4 separate regions of the Homo sapiens genome follow, and regions 1, 2 and 4 are each linked to region 3. The links are contacts of gene promoters, found by promoter capture Hi-C in blood cells and fetal thymus (Javierre and others, 2016). All regions are on one chromosome and are shown on one strand. Each heading gives the region's core, a stretch centred on a gene start or on the middle of the fragment in contact. The rest is flanking DNA. Distances are from core to core; before and after follow the strand shown.

Region 1 (3,114 bases), core at 454-2,953, 540 kb before region 3:
GAGGCTAAGGCAAGAGAATCCCTTGAACCTGGGAGGAGGAGGTTGCAGTGAGCGGAGATCATGCCTCTGCATTCCAGCCTGGGTGACATAGCGAGACTCTGTCTCAAAAAAAAAAAAAAGCCCATTGGAAATCACAGATATCTACATATGGTAATATAAATTATGACATCTCAAAGTGGTAGCATTGGGAAGTTCATGCAGAGCAGAAATTTGAGAGGATGGTGAAGATCTTTTTTTTTTTTTTGAGACGGAGTCTCACTTTGTCGCCCCCAGGCTGGAGTGCAGTGGCGCGATCTTGGCTCACTGCAAGCTCTGCCTCCCGGGTTCACGCCATTCTGCCTCAGCCTCCCGAGTAGCTGGGACTACAGGCACCTGCCGCCACACCCAGCTAATTTTTTGTATTTTTTTTTTTTTTAGTAGAGACGGGGTTTCACCGTGATAGCCAGGATGGTCTCGATGTCCTGACCTCGTGACCCGCCCGCCTTGGCCTCCCAAAGTACGGGATTACAGGCATGAGCCACCTTGCCTGGCCGATGGTGAAGATCCTATAGGAATCTTGTGCAATCCATGGGGAAAATAATTAATGGGATTCTTGGTGGTAATGAGGTTAGAACTCACTGGTCTGCATTGAAGGCTAGGAATTAGACCTTTTGGCTTACTGTGAGTTACTGCTGCATTCATCAAGTCTTCCTGGGGACAAGTATATGTGTCCCTTAGTGCCTTGGTTTCATGGTCTATAACCAAAGAGAATGGAAGTAGACTTCTGGTCCTGATGATTCCTATCTCCAAGGTTTCTCTTCTGCCATTCAGTCTATTCCAAGTCCCCAAGAGCCCATTTCCTTTTTCTTCCTCTTCTCGAGTGGGAATTCCTGGGTAAATGAGAGTCCTCCGCACCTGCCCCAGACACCACCATTTCTGAGCCTCATGTTCTGTTCTATCATCTGTTCTCTATCCTACAGGTACTGGTGTCCCTGGGTGCCAGTGAGAAACTATCCTTGCTCTCTCTGGGGAATCAGTCACTGCCACACAGCAGTCCTAGGCCTGCCTCTGCCAAACACTGCAGGAAACTCATTCACCTCCTGAGGCCAGCCCATAGCATGTGATTCCAGATTCCTGCGGTCCAGCCTCCAACTTTGGTTGCCAGCTCTTTCTTATTCTACTACACAAGCCGCCAACTCAACTGAGAGCTAAAGAGACTAGAAAAGAGATAAGCTGCCAACTCAACTGAGAACAAGAAACTAGAAGAGATTTATATATAAAGCTTCTTCCTTCTCCCAGATGCAGGATGTTTTCAACCAGTAAATTTTATTGCTGTTGGTGCCAGAGAAGAGTCCTTTCTTCTCTACATCCAGGGGCCTTTTCTCCAATAATGTGCCTTTAACTCTAGGGACCTGCCTCACGGACCTTAGGGAAAAACCTCAACCTGAAAGATCTCTTCCTTTCTGGAGCTCCTTTAATCTTCCCAGCAGGTTTTTGCCTTAGACGTGCTGGCCCCAGGACAGTGATGAAGACAGAGCCTGTCTCAGCTCTAGGCTGTGGGGATCAATGCCATCAGTCCCTGTTATTGAGGGATTATCCCTTAGCCAACATTCCTATCTGTGGGTGGGCGTGGAGAGTGTATCTTTTTTTGGGGTGTGTGTGTATATGTGTGTGTGTATGTGTGTGTGTGTTTAATAGTTCTGTTTGTAAACTCTTTTAATAAAAGTTGTGCCTCACCATACTTGAAGCTCCCAGGACAAGGGTTGAGAGGCTCAACCCCTCTTTCAGCTTCTATGTGGTGTTGGAGGTGCTGGTATCGTGTTCACACAAGATCCTGGTCTGGCAGCTTATTTATATCATTTCTTGCCTTTACCAATTTCCCCCTTCCTAGATGAACTATATTTGGTTACCTACTTTCAAGTCAAGGCCGGTGGAGCTGAAATAGGAAAGGGTAAGATTCAACAGAGCGGTCAATTAGGTTGCTCAGACTTAGTGACTAATTTTAATATTTAGTGGAGTTCTAATGTGTAGGGACTCCAAGCTGCTGTAGAAGGATAGCTATTTTAAAGATTGTACAATTTACCAGAAAGGGCTTTTAGTCAGACCTGTTAGAATTATAATCTAACTGGAAGCATTGGAAAACCTTAACTCATTGGATGGCTTAGAACAAGCTTCCAGGGCCTTGATTTCTCCATCCATAAAATGAGGAGACTCCTTTCTGTCCTTCCTTAAATTCCAGTTGTTTTAGAAATGAAAGACAAGTAAAGTGCCCTTATTTTTATAAGAAATTTTGTTTAACCCTCATCTTCATTGTCCACAGTGTTTATACTTTAGCAAAAATAATATTTTTCTAGGGAGCACCATAATTTTCTTCTATCCAGATTATCTCAATTCAGTTCAATGTATATTTTTTGAGTCCTTTCTGTATGCCAGATACTATTCTAGGTACAGGAGATAAAACAGTGCCCATCATAGAGTTTCCATTCTGGTCGGGGAGATAGTGAAATTATTAAAAGAATAGTATGTAGGAAGGTGGTAAAAGCTATGGAGAAAAAGAAACCAGGGAAAGGAGATGAGGAGTGCTGAGTCGGATGGTCAGGGTAGGCCTCACTAGAAGGTGACACTTGAGAAAAGACTCGAAGGAGGCGAGGGAGTGAGTTGTGCACCTATTTTGGGGAAAAGCCAAGGCCCTGAGATGAAAGCATGCCTGGCATGCTTGAGGAGCTATGAGGAACCAGTATGGATTAAGTGAGTAAAGAAGGTGGAGAATAGTAGGAAATGAGACAGGAAGGTAATGGTGGGGGCCAGATATTGTAGGCTTTGTAGACCTTGGTGAAGACTTGGGCTCTTACTTTGAATGAAGGAGGCATCTATTGCAGGCTTTTGAACAGAGAATTTTATGAACTACCTTGCATCCTAAACGGATCATTCTTCATTCTGGTCTTGTGAATGGCTATGGGGAGTAGGGGAGAATGCGAAGTAGGATAAGCAGTTAGGAGGCTATTGTTATAATAATCCAGGCAAGAGACAATGGTGTCCTGGATGGCGACTGGGGTGATACCTATGGAGTGATAAAAAAGTAGTCAAATTTTGAATATATTTTGAACATGGAACAAACAGGATTTCTTGACTGAT
Region 2 (2,969 bases), core at 470-2,969, 590 kb before region 3:
ATACTGACATTATCACTTCAACGAACACAAATCACCCACAATCGAAGATTCCAGTGAAGAACCACAGATATGGAGCTGCATTGGAGTAAAGCTAGGTATCTTGTACAAAACCAGTGGTTCCTCACCTATAACGTAACACATTTGGAGAAATTTCAAACTCATTAACTGACTATGGCCTCAAACTAAATATGGGAACATAACTGAGGAATGAATGACAATTGAATTGCATACCCTGTTATACATGGCTAAAATGAGTTTAAGCTGAATAATTAGTAATTAATAAGAATGATGGGAATCACTTCATGAAATTGAGTCACAGACAAGATGCAAAAAGAAAAAAAGAAGAAGAAACCAGGCCGGGCGCGGTGGCTCAGGCCTGTAATCCCAGCACTTTGGGAGGCCAAGGCGGGCCGATCACCTGAGGTCAGAAGTTCGAGACCAGCCTGGCGAACATTGTGAAACCCTGTTTCTACTAAAAATACAAAAAATCAGCAGGGTGTGGTGGCACACGCCTGTAATCCCAGCTACTCGGGAGGCTGAGGCAGGAGAATCGCTGGAACCCGGGAGGCGGAGGTTGCAGTGAGCCGAGATCGCACCATTGCACCCCAGCTTGGGCAACAAGAGCGAAACTCCGTCTCAAAAAAAAAACAAACAAAAACCAAGATCCTGCAATCTGATAGTCCCTATTTCCAGAATCCCATGGACTCAAAACAACAGATCACAGGGATTCACAAGGTGGCTGGAAAGTGCACTCCCGTGGTCAGAGGGATTCTCTGGAAACTGCAGCCTCCACTTACTGAATATTATCGCTGTTCTGGGGAATCTTCAAGCTTGACCATACATGGCCTCCGGGGGGAGCCAAGGAGGACGCTGAGCCGTCAAGATTAAGAACCTTCACCTGCGGGAGGGCAGGGTGAGGTAGGAGACAGGTGGGCACCAGAGAAGAAATACGCTTATCTTCCGGGCAGGAGGGCTGAGGAAGAGAAAGGACAGACTAAGGCAGAGAGAAGGCCTGGAGAAACAACGGGCCCCGGCCTAGCGACCCAGGTTCCCACCTGCCTCTGGCTCTGACTCACCGCGTGGTCTTGGACAGACACAGTCGCTTCGCTTCTCTGGGCCTCAGCTTTCCTATCTGTAAAATGGAGGTGATGACAGTGTCCACATCGTCGGGCAGGAGCTGGATCATAAGAGCCAGCGAACTGGAAAGGCGGTTTGTAACCTGGAAGGCTTGGGATGGAGCATCGTCATGATTTTGTCCTGAGAGCAGCAGGTACCCGGGCGGGGTCCAGAACCGTGACGCGACTGCAGCGCCGGGGCCCAGCTCGTCTGGGTGCTCCCTTCAGTACCTCCTTCCGAGAGTTCCCAGCGCCCAGGCCCACCCTGATCCCGGGGCTCGAAAAACTTTGCCTCCAGCTCGCTCCACCCGCATTCCCTTCCCAGTTCCGCCCCGCAGCCGCTCACTCACCTCCAGACCCAGAGCCGGCGGGAGCCGCATCTCTATGGTCGGCCGCGGCTGGAACGGCCCCCGGGGCCCGCTTTGTGCGACCGCCTCCGGCTCAGCCGCCTCTAGGATATTGGGGATGTGGAAGCCACTCTCTCTTCCTCTTGCCGGCTGCCGGGGTACTCTATGTTTTGTCTCTGTGGTTTTTCCCGCCCTCCACCCCCACTCCAGCCCTGAAGCCGGAGAAGCACCATCGAGAGCTCTGGGGTAGAGTGGCGTGGGCTTCTCTGTGGGTGTGGCGGGAAGTAGATGAAAGGACCCGGGGCGGGGCCGAACGCAGCTTCCCCAAGGTGCAGGCGCGGTGAAACCATCGAGACGGAGGGCCAGAGAGTCACGGCGGTGAGAGGGCTGAGTGACGGGTTACCCCAAACCATGTGGCTGGAGGCGCGAGCTGGGGTGTGGGCGAGGTTCAGGAGGGGGTTCCTGGGTGTCGCGGAGGGGCCGGGGACGGGAGAGCTTTGTCTGTGGCCTTCCATGCATAGGTGTTTTGGAATTCTGGATCCCAGTTCTGAGGCTCAGCCGAGGTCACTGCTGTCAGCTCACCTCCCTGCATGCCAGGCGCAGGGCAAAGTGGCCGGGGTTCGGGGTTGGAGGAGAGGTGTACTAGAAACAACTTTGCTCTTGTCCCTCAGGATCTTATTGTCTACGATGTGACGATCCGTGGAGAAAGTAGCAGATGGGCAGATTTTCATTTGGGGAGAATGAGGGAGAAAAGAACGGGCATTCCGAGCCAAGAGCACTGCATGAGCAAGGAGTTGGGAGGTTGCTTACTTGTTGAACATATTTGTTGCGTATTTGCATATTTGCTAAACAGGTAGTGTTAGGAGCTAATCCATGAAAGGTAGGTGGGCGCCGTATTGTAGAGAGCCTTGAGTACCAGGCTGAGTTTATACCCAATTCAGGGGTCTGCTGGGAGCCAGCCATTGAAGGTGCTGGAGCAGAGAGAGATATGGTATTGGAGCTGATCCCTATGATGAAAGATCTGGACCCTTGTGTAGATGTTCCGTGAAGCAGGAGGTGAAGACCTATTAAAATGCCATTTCAAGAACTACGATTTTAAAGACAGTTTAGGTGGGAGGTAATAAAGGTCTAAACAAGACGTTAAATATTGGGGACGTAAGGGGGAGGATATTTGAAGGACATTACTCATAACAAGACATAGGGTTACTGACAAGTCAACGGACGCTTCTCCCTTGCTGACTGCAGCCAATGGACCCCTTTTTATCATAGCTGGTCCCAGGGACCACAAAAATCCTGTCCATCCATTACCCTGATGTGAAGCCTGTTTATATAGCTCTTTTTGGTTTAAGGCATCTCCAGACATGGTCCTCTGGTAGGAAACAGGTATGAGTAGACTAATGAAGGACAAAATGGGATGAGGGACCTGGAGCCTCCACCCTTGCATTCCAATACCACCCTTACCCCACAAAAGGAGGGTATTGACCCACACAGTAATGCTGACCTGTGG
Region 3 (3,380 bases), core at 225-2,724:
GGTGGCACGCGCCTGTATTCCAAGCTACTCCGAGGGTGGGGGTGGGGGTGGGGGTGGGGGTGGGGGTAGGGGCTGAGGCAGGAGAATTGCTTGAACCCGGAAGGCGGAGGTTGCAGTGAACCGAGATCCTGCCACTGCACTCCAGCCTGGGCAACAGAGCGAGACTCTGTCTCAAAAAACACAAACAAACAAACAAAAGAAATGTAAAATCTCAGATCCTACCTCAGACCTATAGAATCAGAATTTGTATTTTAACAAGATTCCCAGGTGATCCTAGGCACCTTCAAAATTGAGAAGCATGGCTTTACTTGACTGGGCTCCCTGAGGACAGGGAGTGCCCTGTTCATCTCAAATCCTCAGCCTCTAGCACAGGGCCGGGTATATAGTAGGTTAAATCTGGATGAATCAATGTCATAACCAAAAGGCTAAAACAGGTTCAGAACCAGGGGAAACCATTGGAAAATCTTCAGGGTGATCCGGGGTGTGGAAGGGAGGAACCAGGTCACAAGAAGGACCTCTTTCCTGGAGAGTCCTGTTTCAGCAAAACAGCCATTCCCTCCTGGCCATTCCACCTTCTTTGGAAGTGCACCCCTCTCCAGCTTACCCCTGCCTGCCTCCGCAACAGATATTAAGGACAACTGCTTTGTGCCAAAGCTCGAAAATCTGTGAATTTCCGTTCCTTTTGCCTTTACAGTCTCAAGAATGGGATGTGAAGATCAGGGTAATAATAATTACGGTTTATTGACACGTACTGAAGGCTATGTGTCAGATATTGTATTAAACACTGTACATCTCATTTAATCTTCAACTCCATGAGGTAGATAATTATTTCCATTTTACAGAGGAGGAGAGGAAAGGACAGAAACATTAAGTAGCCTGTCCAAGGTCACACAACTACGTTAACGGAGCTGTCATTTGAACTAGTCAGTCTGGCCTCACAGTTAAGCTACTTAACCTTATGTACTATTATACCTATTTTACAGCTACCAAAAGTAAGGATCCGAGAGGTTAAGTAACTTGCCCGAGGTTACACAGCTAGCATGCTATTAACACTCAATTTAGAAACTGGAAGTCTGGTTCACAAGCCTGAGCTCTTAACCACTGAGACTAGGGGTAGTGGGATACAGGCCAGAGCCCAGAAGGTTGTACGGGATCAGGAGACCAGGCCACCAGACCCGCCCCTCACTGGATCCCCCTCCAGGCTGCAGTGTAGTTGGCCGCTTTCTGCCCCAGAGCGCCAGAGGTATGAAGCCTCCTACCTCCAACATTGGGAGATGGAGGTCCTGGGGGCCTCGGGCCGAGCCCGGCTTTGCTCCCCTTTGGCGTAGGTGCCTGCGTCTTGACCCCCACCGAAGGCCAAGTAGAGAACCCTCACCAGGGTCCTGGGACCCGTCCACCCCTACACCTAGCTAGCCCGGAGCCTCTCAGCTCCGCGTCCCCACATCCTCCGGATGCCCAGCGGTTGCTGAGATACCGCGGGCCGTTACGCCGGCGCGGACTGATGATGTCAGCACTGCTTCCGGTCGGTGGCGCTTCTCTCTGGCCCGAGCCAGGTCAGTCCGGCAGTGCAGATGGCCCATCCCGGGCTCTGGGCTCCTAGACCGGGGTGGGCCCTGCCAGGAGTGGGCCTGAGCCTCGCACGTCCTCTGAAACTACGCTATGCTCTGCTTTTGCGGCGCGATGGGCGTGGGAGCGGGGGCTGCCCAAAGATGGGCTGGGGTTGGAGGAAGTGGCCCGGTAGCCGCTGTGTGTCCTGAGGCCGTAAGGCGCCTGACCCCACCCCTGAAGCTGGCGACGGAGCAGGGCCTGTTTTCTCTACACTATAGTGTAGGTTCCAGAGACCTGGGCCTGAGCTCTCCGCATTGGTACTTCATGGGTCGTCTGGATTGTGCCGGACCTGTGACCCTGCCGTTGTTTTCTTTCCAGCATGATCCGCTGGGCCCCCAGCGCATCTCCTGGAAGAGCCCACTCACCCTGGACGAGCTCTTCGGTAGCCTCAGACCGTCCTTGAAGAGGATGACTGAGACATTATGGGCCACGCGCTGTGTGTCTGCTCTCGGGGAACTGTCATCATTGACAATAAGCGCTACCTCTTCATCCAGAAACTGGGGGAGGGGTGAGTGTTTGGAAGTCAGTTAACTAGTCCTCAAGTTTATGATCATTGAAGGACAGCGGTGTGCATATGCTTGGGGCACAAGGGTTTTATCCCTATCCCTGTCCTCTCTCACCTGACAGAACCTAGCTACACAGTATCAAGAAGGTGGATTCTGGAGCCAGGCCTGCTAAATCCACCTCGTGTGACCTTGATAAACCATGTTTTTTTCATCAGCTTAATGGAGATGATTATTATCCCTCACTGATGGAGTTGTGAGGATTAAATGAGATAATGTGTATAAAATGTCTCACCCAATGCGGGGTTGACAAGTACTTGATAAGTGTTGGCTATTATTTATTTAGCATCTGTCAAGTGCAGAGGTCTCTATTACGACCATAGGACCTCAAAGATTTCTATATCTCTGCTCCTGAGGAGCTCACGGTGTAATATTCTTCAGATTTCTCTTAGAGCCACATCTTGGGAAGGTTTCTGCTAAATGGGAAGGACACCCCACTCCCCACCAGGAAATTTCTCTAGGTCCAAGCCATGTGGGAGATGACCATGGCCCTTTATTGACCCCTTTGGCCCACAGTGGGTTCAGCTATGTGGACCTAGTGGAAGGGTTACATGATGGACACTTCTACGCCCTGAAGCGAATCCTGTGTCACGAGCAGCAGGACCGGGAGGAGGCCCAGCGAGAAGCCGACATGCATCGCCTCTTCAATCACCCCAACATCCTTCGCCTCGTGGCTTACTGTCTGAGGGAACGGGGTGCTAAGCATGAGGCCTGGCTGCTGCTACCATTCTTCAAGGTCAGAAAGACTCCTGGTTATGGAGGGGGTTGCAGCAGAGCCACCTACTCAAGGGCTGTGTGAGCAGTCCAGCATGTTAGGAAGCAGGGACCATGTCCTGGGTTTGGCCACTTTAGATTTTGAGTTTGAGGTGTGTATCATGAAAGGGCTGATAGGCTTTGACATAGGGAAGGGATCAGGCCTAAGGAGCAGAGGCTCCAAAAACATCTCCAACTGTAGGGAAACTTGTGTTGCAGAGAGGTACGCTGTGGAATGAGATAGAAAGGCTGAAGGACAAAGGCAACTTCCTGACCGAGGATCAAATCCTTTGGCTGCTGCTGGGGATCTGCAGAGGCCTTGAGGCCATTCATGCCAAGGGTTATGCCCACAGGTCAGTGGGAGGACCCTGTGTGCTTGCTGGGGCCCAGAGGAAGAGCCTCACCAGGAGACATGGGAGGTCTCTGTTCTCCCAAGAAACAGCCTGTATGATTCTT
Region 4 (3,148 bases), core at 338-2,837, 950 kb before region 3:
CCAGAGAATTGTATGAGCTTCCACTCTCTGGTCGTCCCAGTTCAGCCCTCTGAAAACACACAAGTATGTGTGTTTCCCTTCTCTGTGGCTTCTGCTTTTTCTGAAAGGCCCAGGGTGAGGCCTGCGGTTGGAGGTGCTCTGAGGTAGACAGCGTCTGGCTGAGGCACCCATTCCCAGGGGAGGAGGCTGAGCCCAGGTGGCTATTACCCCAGCTCATGACATGAGGCTCTCCCAACACTTACAGGATAACCCATCATTACCTCTCTGAAGGGCTCATTTTTACAAGTGAGGCCTTGAGGTCATAGCACAGAAAGACAGGGCCCCTGACACTGTGGTCCTGCCTCTTCCATTTAAGCTATAAACTGGTTCTCTGGATCCTCATGACTGGAGAGACAGAGAGAGGAGGCAGGTGAGAAGGAAGTATGGCTCCCCCTTTGCGCCAATAAAGCAGCCCCAGGAGGCACCTGGCTCCCCTGCCACCACTGGCCAGCCCAAAGTCGCCAGCTTGGAAACCAAAGCTCACTAATGAGATGAATATTTCAGAGCCCAGAGAACTGGACACCTGAGGGCCCTTCCATGACATCTGGCTCTGACCTGCGTTCCCAGGCCTACTTATCCCATGTCCAGGGTGCTCAGGTAGAACCCCAAACTCCTGGGTACCACGTAGAGGCCACAGAGGAGGGAGAGGAGATGGAGACCCCATAGGACAAGAATTGGTGCCGACCCCACAAGGCCAGGGCCTGGCCTCCCAGCAGCCTCCCTCTGCTTCCTCCCACTGGTCCCTGGCTCCTGCCCCAGTCTCTCCACTTGCTTTCCCTTTTCCCGTTTCTCTGTTTTGTTTTCACTCTAACCCAAAGAAGTCACGAGGAGGATGTTACTCCCCTGTAGTTCTGTGAACCCAGCCGGGAAACAGTGGCTGGAAGTGGGACTGGCAGAGGGCAAAGTCATGGTGATAGAGGTGGCCACTTCCCCATGCCAAACACTTGAGCTGCTCATTGGCTTCTGCCCCAGCTGCAAGCTAGGACCCCCCCTTCCCCACCCCTTAAATATTCACCTGTCTACACCGAGACTGGCCTCAGCGCGTGTGGGGGCAACCTGGGGTCCGTGCCAGGCCCTGGCTGTCTCCCCTCCCTCTTCCCTCTTCTCACCAGCTGAGGGCCATGAAAGCCCTCATCCCACACAGCTGGCCACTCGGGCTGGCATGGTGGATAGGCCCTGCGACAGAGAGGCCACTCGTGCCCGAAAGAGGGAACACGAGGACACCCCCAGACCCTGGCTCCGCTCACCAGTGCCCACAACACGCTGCTGGGCTCCCAAGGCTAACCAGGTGCCACAGACCCGGCCGCCCACCCGCGCGCCCAGGGAGAGCGAAACGCCAAGGGCCAGGAGGGGAGATCCCCATCTGGAACGGGCTCCTTGGGCCCAGGAGCGGGCAAGCCGGGAGCGCGCTCCGAAAAGTTTAGGCGCCCCGGCGCATGGCCGCCCCAGCCCTGGACCAGTCCCCACCGCCCACAGTCCCCAACGGCGCCGGCCCCGGCCCCCTGGCTTGCCTGCGCCGTTCCAGACGGAGCGTTCCTGGCCTCGGAGTGTTGCAAGTCCTCCGGGGCCGGGCAGGGCTAGGCTCGGCTGGGGCTCCGCGCCCCGCCCCGTCGCGCCGGCCTCGTGGGGCGGGGCCTCAGGGCGCCGCCAGGGGGCGCAGGGGTCTGTCCCGGGCGCGCGCGCCTCTCAGAGCCCCGACGACGCCTCACTAATAACACAGGGGTATTTTCGGATTTAAAGGCAATACATGATACTGATAGGAAGCTAGAAAAGACACAGAAATGCAGGGAAGAAAGTAATTTCTCTCCACCCCTCCTAGTTCCCAGGGGGAAGCGTTCGCTTTGGGTCCTTCTTTGGCTATTACATTTCTGTATGTATTTTGTTTTTCTACAGTGGGGTATATTGTATGGTGTTTTGTTTACTGCCCTTCTTTTTACTGTTTTATGATGAACATTTTTCTTCTCACTAAATAGTCTTCAAAAGCACAATCTTAATGCCGTGAAGTATTCCATTGCATGGCTATGCGGATTAAATTAATTTCCTACTGGAGGCCGTTTGTTTCCCATTTTTACATTACAAATAAATCAGTAATTAAAATCCTTGATAATTCTGTGTTTTTGAGATAAATGCACTTTTCGAGTTTAAAACTGCAAACATGCAAACCTAGAATCTCTGTTTATAATTACTCAACCAGGAAAGCAGGTGCTTTCCTCAAGTCAGAATTCAGAAGTCCTACATTGAGATGTAGATTACTACTGTTAGGTAGGTCTTAACCCTCATCTCAGTGAAGAATGCAGTAGCAAAGGAGGAAACAGTTTTGAGGAAGTTCTGAAATATTACTGGAGCCTGGGCATGGTGACTCACACCTGCGATCCTAGCACTTTTGGGAGGCCAAGGCCAGAGGATGGCTTGAGCCCAGGAGTTGGAGACCCAGCCTAGGCAACATAGAGAGACCTTGTCTCAATTTAAAAAGAGAAACATTACCGAGCCTTGCCTGAGTTTCTGTGGTTCCAAAGTCCAAGTTCTTTCCATGACACCAAGGCTGCCAGTAGTTGACCAACTCTGTTTAAAGTGCTTATCTCATGTTAATAGCTATAGGTCAGCACCACACCACCACTGAATGTCCTTTTTTTTTTTTTTTTTTTTTTCCAGACAGGGTCTCGCTCTGTCACCCAGGCTGGAGTGCAGTGGCGCCATCTCGGCTCACTGCATCCTCCTCCTGGTTTCAAGTGATTCTCCGGCCTCAGCCTCCTGAGTAGCTGGGATTACAAGTGTGTGCCACTACACCCAGCTAATTTTGTTTGTTTGCTTGTTTGTTTTGTTTGGTTTGTTTGTTTTGTAGAGATGGGTTTTCACGTTGTTGCATAGGCTGGTCTCAAACCCCTGAGCTCAAAGCAGTCAGCCCACTTTGGCCTCCCAAAGTGCTAGGATTACAGACATGAGCCACCACGTCCAGCCCCAAAACAGAGATTTAAAAAAAAAAAAAAAAAAAAAAGACAGATTTTTAAAAACTGCCCCCCATACACACACTATGTATGTTTATTTCTGTAAATATAGTTTAAGTAGGAGTTACTTAGGGGGACTAGTGGCCGTTATGGTGGGCTAGCTC

Evidence for each region. The method cuts DNA at HindIII sites, captures the fragments that hold promoters and counts their contacts. A CHiCAGO score of 5 or more calls a contact.
Region 1: a contact is called between a fragment that was not itself captured here and the fragment with the promoter of GLB1L in region 3, in 2 of 17 cell types (total B cells and total CD8 T cells). The highest score is 6.2, in total B cells.
Region 2: a contact is called between the fragment with the promoter of ZNF142 here and the fragment with the promoter of GLB1L in region 3, in 1 of 17 cell types (non-activated CD4 T cells). The highest score is 5.3, in non-activated CD4 T cells.
Region 4: the fragment with the promoter of TMBIM1 here is called in contact with the fragment with the promoter of GLB1L in region 3 in 1 of 17 cell types (naive CD8 T cells); the score reaches 5.5 in naive CD8 T cells.

Annotation. Positions count from the first base shown.
Region 1 is chr2:218,700,907-218,704,020 of GRCh38, forward strand. STK36 (serine/threonine kinase 36) reads left to right here. Exons shown (of 27, transcript NM_015690.5): 27 at 960-1,809. The coding sequence ends at 1,103. Among named protein-coding and RNA genes, the nearest start is that of TTLL4, 8.4 kb to the right of the region's middle. The HindIII fragment of the contact is 889 bases long and covers 1,260-2,148 here.
Region 2 is chr2:218,657,904-218,660,872 of GRCh38, forward strand. ZNF142 (zinc finger protein 142) reads right to left here and starts at 1,720. Exons shown (of 11, transcript NM_001379659.1): 1 at 1,466-1,720; 2 at 1,077-1,227; 3 at 798-973. It overlaps BCS1L (BCS1 ubiquinol-cytochrome c reductase complex chaperone), which reads left to right and starts at 1,780. Exons shown (of 8, transcript NM_001079866.2): 1 at 1,780-1,840. RefSeq lists enhancers at 844-963, 1,774-1,903. The HindIII fragment of the contact is 10,571 bases long and covers 829-2,969 here.
Region 3 is chr2:219,243,970-219,247,349 of GRCh38, forward strand. It overlaps GLB1L (galactosidase beta 1 like), which reads right to left and starts at 1,475. Exons shown (of 17, transcript NM_001286423.2): 1 at 1,260-1,475. It overlaps STK16 (serine/threonine kinase 16), which reads left to right and starts at 1,510. Exons shown (of 8, transcript NM_001330213.2): 1 at 1,510-1,827; 2 at 1,927-2,116; 3 at 2,688-2,907; 4 at 3,144-3,277. The coding sequence starts at 2,031. RefSeq lists enhancers at 1,191-1,773, 1,222-1,651. The HindIII fragment of the contact is 6,920 bases long and covers 1-3,380 here.
Region 4 is chr2:218,290,916-218,294,063 of GRCh38, forward strand. TMBIM1 (transmembrane BAX inhibitor motif containing 1) reads right to left here and starts at 1,588. Exons shown (of 12, transcript NM_022152.6): 1 at 1,551-1,588. All of the region lies in intron 2 of PNKD (PNKD metallo-beta-lactamase domain containing), which reads left to right. RefSeq lists enhancers at 156-1,120, 1,121-2,083, 2,266-3,112 and a silencer at 1,366-1,845. The HindIII fragment of the contact is 24,107 bases long and covers 1-3,148 here.